2 separate regions of the Homo sapiens genome follow, and region 2 is linked to region 1. Evidence: promoter capture Hi-C in human tissues and cell types (Jung and others, 2019). All regions are on one chromosome and are shown on one strand. The core of a region is centred on a gene start or on the middle of the fragment in contact, and the rest is flanking DNA. Distances in the headings are between cores, read along the strand shown.

The links. The method cuts DNA at HindIII sites, captures the fragments that hold promoters and counts their contacts. A contact is called where the count stands out against the background at its distance.
Region 2: a fragment that was not itself captured here is called in contact with the fragment with the promoter of OR1L1 in region 1 in 2 of the 25 tissues and cell types used here (heart right ventricle and mesendoderm cells).

The regions. Positions count from the first base shown.
Region 1 is chr9:122,660,149-122,663,445 of GRCh38, forward strand. It overlaps OR1L1 (olfactory receptor family 1 subfamily L member 1), which reads left to right and starts at 1,568. Exons shown (of 1, transcript NM_001005236.3): 1 at 1,568-2,500. The coding sequence starts at 1,568. The coding sequence ends at 2,500. The HindIII fragment of the contact is 8,013 bases long and covers 1-3,297 here.
Region 2 is chr9:122,594,203-122,597,499 of GRCh38, forward strand. No RefSeq gene overlaps it. Among named protein-coding and RNA genes, the nearest start is that of OR1L8, 12 kb to the left of the region's middle. The HindIII fragment of the contact is 4,400 bases long and covers 1-3,297 here.

The DNA of each region.
Region 1 (3,297 bases), core at 318-2,817:
CTAACACTGGGAGATGGGAAAGTGACTAGTGGCATAAGATGTTCTAGTTGTTTTAGCTTGATGATCAACGAATTCCGAGAAAACGTTCTCCAACCCCACATTCTGTCTTTCAATGTAAGCAGCACAGCGGTGAGGCTCAGGAAGTCTGTCACTTGAGCCAGCCTCACACAGGTGGGGTCTTTTTCACCAAAAGGAGTTAGGTCAGGAGGGTGATTTCTGAGAGAGAGAGAAGGCACTGACACTCCCCAGGCTCCTTGGGGAAGAAACTCCAAAACCGTAATAGTTCTTGGCTTGTTTTCTGCTGTCTTCTCCATCTGAACTCCAGGGACTTCTTGATGATCTCAAAGGATGCTCCCTTGACAGAGGGTGGGGTCTATGAGTGTCTTTAATCTCTTCAGCATGTGGGAGGCCCAGAGGAGGAAGAGAGGAAAATCTTCAGCTTCATGAGGGTTGAAAGCTTGTCTAGAATCAGGTGCCTTCTCTGTGTGGTTTTTTGGGGAAGCATATATATAACTGAGACTGGAATTGGGAAAAGAATTACACCAACACAGACAAGCATGCACTAACAATGACGATTTTAGCATTTAGGGGCTGGATAACAAAAATGAGGTTTATGTTACATTAAAAGAAATGTTGGCCGGGTGCGGTGACTAATGCCTGTAATCCCACCACTTTGGAAGGCCAAGGTGGGCGGATCACTTGAGATCAGGAGTTCGTGACCAGCCTGGCCAACATGGTGAAACCCCATCTCTACTAAAAATACAAAAATTAGCTGGGTGTGGTGGCACAAGCCTGTAATCCCAGCTACTCAGGAGGCTAAGGGGGGAGAATCGCTTGAACCCAGGAGGCAGAGGTTGCAGTGAGCTAAGATTGTGCCACTGCACTCCAGCCTGGGTGACAAAGCAAGACCTTGTCTCAAAAAAAAAAAAATAAGGAAAAGAAATGTTTTTACTATCCTGTTATTTCTGTCTATCTTTTGCCTCTTCATACCTATCCTTTCACTCAAATAAGGTTTCACTAAAAAATGAGGGAAATGGAGTAACTGTTGGGTAATCTCATATTTCAATGTCTTTTTACATGATTGCCAGCCTCCAGAATAACTGATGCAGACAGAAGTATCCGAACTAAGGGAAATCATTATTCCATCAGCTGGAAATTGAGAGATGAAACTTTTTTAAACCTGTCATAAACTAATTACTGAAAACCGTGAATACGATAAATATATACAGAAAAAGAAGAGAATAATTTCTCCAGGATTCCCCTCCTCTCCTTCTGGGAATTCTCTTGCACTCACTCCTTCCTCTTGCCCTATATCTCTTCTTTTCTCTTTTTCCCATTTCTGTTTCCCTGTAATTTGTTTCTTTATAGCAGGCAACTGAGATTAAAATATATATTAATTTCTAAATATCCCACATTAATGGAAAGAAACCACAATCCAGATAATTGTAATGTTTTAAATTTTTTCTTTGCTGATAAGAAGAATAAAAGGAGAAATTTTGGACAGATTGTATCAGATGTTGGAAGAATCTGTTACAGTGTTAGTTTATCTTTAGGTGAACCCACAACTATGGGAAGAAATAACCTAACAAGACCCTCTGAATTCATCCTCCTTGGACTCTCCTCTCGACCTGAGGATCAGAAGCCGCTCTTTGCTGTGTTCCTCCCCATCTACCTTATCACAGTGATAGGAAACCTGCTTATCATCCTGGCCATCCGCTCAGACACTCGTCTCCAGACGCCCATGTACTTCTTTCTAAGCATCCTGTCTTTTGTTGACATTTGCTATGTGACAGTCATTATCCCTAAGATGCTGGTGAACTTCTTATCAGAGACAAAGACCATCTCTTACAGTGAGTGTCTGACCCAGATGTACTTTTTCTTAGCCTTTGGAAACACAGACAGTTACCTGCTAGCAGCCATGGCCATTGACCGCTATGTGGCCATATGTAATCCCTTCCACTACATCACCATTATGAGTCACAGATGCTGTGTCCTGCTTCTGGTTCTCTCCTTCTGCATTCCACATTTTCACTCCCTCCTGCACATTCTTCTGACTAATCAGCTCATCTTCTGTGCCTCAAATGTCATCCATCACTTTTTCTGCGATGATCAACCAGTGCTAAAATTGTCCTGTTCCTCCCATTTTGTCAAAGAAATCACAGTAATGACAGAAGGCTTGGCTGTCATAATGACCCCGTTTTCATGCATCATCATCTCTTATTTAAGAATCCTCATCACTGTTCTGAAGATTCCTTCAGCTGCTGGAAAGCGTAAAGCATTTTCTACCTGTGGCTCTCATCTCACAGTGGTGACCCTGTTTTATGGAAGCATTAGCTATCTCTATTTTCAGCCCCTGTCCAACTATACTGTCAAGGATCAAATAGCAACAATTATCTACACCGTACTGACTCCTATGCTAAATCCATTTATCTATAGTCTGAGGAACAAAGACATGAAGCAGGGTTTGGCAAAGTTGATGCACAGGATGAAATGTCAGTAAAAGACCTAAGGTCTTAAGAGAATACCACAGATCTCTTGCCCTGGACTATAGGTTATTAATGGGTATGTGATTCTGAAATGATTATTAGATTCTGAAAGGATAGTACCTTCAATGATGGTGTTTCATTCCTTACAGAAGAATGTTTATTGCATGTATTGAAGCTACTCCTGAATATAATGCCTACAAACTAAGTTGGATCACTGTAATCTCCTGAGTATCCCTATTCATGCAGCTGGGTTTTCTTGTATAGTAATGTAAAGCTGCTTGAATGTCTTTGAGCTACTCTGTGTGTGTGTGCGTGCGTGTGTGCATGTGTGTGTGTATGTGTGTGTGTGTCGCTTCATCATATTAGCCCAGGGGCTCCTCAATAACGAGGTCTCTCTCTTTCTCCCATTATAAATGTCAGAACTGTGACTCCTTCCTCTGCATTTCCTCAAAGATTAAAGCCTGGCTTCTATAGTTGTCATAGTCTCAACAAATAAAATCATCCCACTAGATAACTCTTAGTGAATCAGTGCCAGGTCAGGTTCCTAAGAGTATGGCATCTCAGTATTCTTCCTGCTTCCCACCTGGCAAAGCTGACTGTACCTTAAATCTCTCATTAATTTCATTTGACCCAAACTCAACTGCACTGTTTTCCCGGGAGGTATGTGTTAGGTCCCAGTAACCTTAGTAGCAGATGCCTCCAACTGCTGGGGCAGTTCTCTTCCTTAACAGACTTTGAAGACAGTCTTCCAACCAGAAAAACAAATTGGGTAGGAAAGAAACACTTTTGCTCATTTGTGAGTTCTGAGAAA
Region 2 (3,297 bases), core at 210-2,709, 66 kb before region 1:
TATTTTGCTCGTTAGTTGATGCAGTTTCTTCCTAGTCTCGATGGTCTTTACATTTTGGCATGATTTTGCAGCGGCTGGTACCCGTTGTTCCTTTCCATGTTTAGCGCTTCCTTCAGGAGCTCTTTTAGGGCAGGCCTGGTGGTGAGAAAACCTGTCATCATTTGCTTGTCTGTGAAGTATTTTATTTCTCCTTCACTTATGAAGCTTAGTTTGGCTGCATATGAAATTCTGGGTTGAAAATTATTTTCTTTAAGAATGTTGAATATTGGCCCCCACTCTCTTCTGGCTTGTAGAGTTTCTGCCGAGAGATCAGCTGTTAGTCTGATGGGCTTCTCTTTGAGGGTAACCCGACCTTTCTCTCTGGCTGCCCTTAACATTTTTTTCTTCATTTCCACTTTGGTGAATCTGACAATTATGTGTCTTGGAGTTGCTCTTCTCGAGGAGTATCTTTGTGGCGTTCTCTGTATTTCCTGAATCTGAATATTGGCCTGCCTTGCTAGATTGGGGAAGTTCTCCTGGATAATATCCTGCAGAGTGTTTTCCAACTTAGTTCCATTCTCCCTGTCACTTTCAGGTACACCAATCAGACGTAGATTTGGTCTTTTCACATAGTCCCATATTTCGTGGAGGCTTTGTTCATTTCTTTTTATTCTTTTTTCTCTAAACTTCCCTTCTCGCTTCATTTCATTCATTTCATCTTCCATCACTGATACCCTTTCTTCCAGTTGATCGCATTGGCTCCTGAGGCTTCTGCATTCTTCACGTAGTTTCGAGCCTTGGCTTTCAGCTCCATCAGCTCCTTTAAGCACTTCTCTGTATTGGTTATTCTAGTTATACATTCTTCTAAATTTTTTTCAAAGTTTTCAACTTCTTTGCCTTTGTTTTGAATTCCTCCTGTAGCTTGGAGTAGTTTGATCATCTAAAGCCTTCTTCTCTCAGCTCGTCAAAGTCATTCTCCATCCAGCTTTGTTCCATTGCTCGTAAGGAACTGCGTTCCTTGGAGGAGGAGAGGCACTCTGATTTTTAGAGTTTCCAGTTTTTCTGCTCTGTTTTTTCCCCATCTTTGTGGTTTTATCTACTTTTGGTCTTTGATGATGGTGATGTACAGATGGGTTTTTGGTGTGGATGTCCTTTCTGTTTGTTAGTTTTCCTTCTAACAGACAGGACCCTCAGCTGCAGGTCTGTTGGAGTACCCGGCTGTGTGAGGTGTCAGTCTGCCCCTGCTGGGGGGTGCCTCCCAGTTAGGCTGCTCGGGGGTCAGGGGTCAGGGACCCACTTGAGGAGGCAGTCTGCCCGTTCTCAGATCTCCAGCTGCGTGCTGGGAGAACCACTGCTCTCTTCAAAGCTGTCAGACAGGGACATTTAAGTCTGCAGAGGTTACTGCTGTCTTTTTCTTTGTCTGTGCCCTGCCCCCAGAGGTGGAGCCTACAGAGGCAGGCAGGCCTCCTTGAGCTGTGGTGGGCTCCACCCAGTTCGAGCTTCCCGGCTGCTTTGTTTACCTAATCAAGCCTGGGCAATGGCGGGCGCCCCTCCCCCAGCCTCGCTGCCGCCTTGCAGTTTGATCTCAGACTGCTGTGCTAGCAATCAGTGAGACTCCGTGGGTGTAGGACCCTCTGAGCCAGGTGGGGGATATAATCTCCTGGTGTGCCGTTTTTTAAGGCTGTCGGAAAAGCGCAGTATTCGGGTGGGAGTGACCCGATTTTCCAGGTGCCATCTGTCACCACTTTCTTTGACTAGGAAAGGGAACTCCCTGACGCCTTGTGCTTCCTGAGTGAGGCAATGCCTCGCCCTGCTTCGGCTCGCACACGGTGCGCGCACCCACTGACCTGCGCCCACTGTCTGGCACTCCCTAGTGAGATGAACCTGGTACCTCAGATGGAAATGCAGAAATCACCCATCTTCTGCCTTGCTCACACTGGGAGCTGTAGACCAGAGCTGTTCCTATTCTGCCATCTTGGCTCCTCCTTCTTCAGCACTCTTAACGTGTCATCCCAGTCCTTCCTGGCCTGCAAAGTTTCTGCTGAGAAGTCTGCTGCCAGACGTATTAGATCTTCCTTATATGTGATTTGCTTCTTTTCTCTCACTGTTTTCAGTATTCTCTCCTTGTCTTTACCCTTTGAGAGTTTGACTCTAATATGTCTTGGATTATCCTCATTTGTGTTTAATATGTTGGTGACATTTGGCCTTCCTGAACCTGGATATTTATGTGTTTCTCAGATTTGGAAAATTTTCTGTTATTATTTTTTAAAATAAGCTTTCTTCCCCTTTGCCTTCTCAGTTTCCTCTTTAACTTCAATAACCCAATTATTTGCTATTTTGATGTTGCCTCATAGATCCCATAATCTTTCTTCATTTTTTTCATTCTCTGTCTTTTTTGTCTTCTGACTGTGTATTTTAAAAGTTTGTCTTTCCAGCTCACTGATTCTTTCTGCTGCTTGATCAGTTCTTCTGTTGATGCTCTCTACTGCATTTTTTGTAATTATTATACTTTAAGCTCTAGGGTACATGTGCACAACATGCAGGTTTGTTACATATTTATACATGTGCCATGTTCGTGTGCTGCACCCATTAACTTGTCATTTACATTAGGTATATCTCCTAATGCTATCCCTCCCCCCCTACCCCCACCCCACAACAGGCCCCAGTGTGTGATGTTCCCCTTCCTGTGACCAAGTGTTCTCATTGTTCAATTCCCACCTATGAGTGAAAACATGCGGTGTTTGGTTTTTTGTCCTTGTGATAGTTTGCTGAGAATGATGGTTTCCAGCTTCATCCATGTCCCTACAAAGGACATGAACTCATCCTTTTTTATTGCTGCATAGTATTCCATGGTGTATATGTGCCACATTTTCTTAATCCAGTCTATCACTGATGGACACTTGGGTTGGTTCCAAGTCTTTGCTATTGTGAATAGTGCCGCAGTGAACATACATGTACATGTGTCTTTATAGCAGCATGATTTATAATCCTTTGGCTATATACCCAGTAATGGGATGGCTGGGTCAAATGGTATTTCTAGTTCTAGATCCTTGAGGAATTGCCACACTGTCTTCCACAATGGTTGAACTAGTCTACAGTCCCACCAACAGTGTAAAAGTATTCCTATTTCTCCACATCCTCTCCAGCACCTGTTGTTTCCTGACTTTTTAATGATTGCCATTCTAACTGGTGTGAGATGGTACCTCATTGTGGTTTTGATTTGCATTTCTCTGATGGCCAGTGATGATGAGCATTTTTTCATGTGTCTTTTGGCTGCATAAATGTCTTCTTTTGAGAAGTGTCTGTTCATATCCTTTG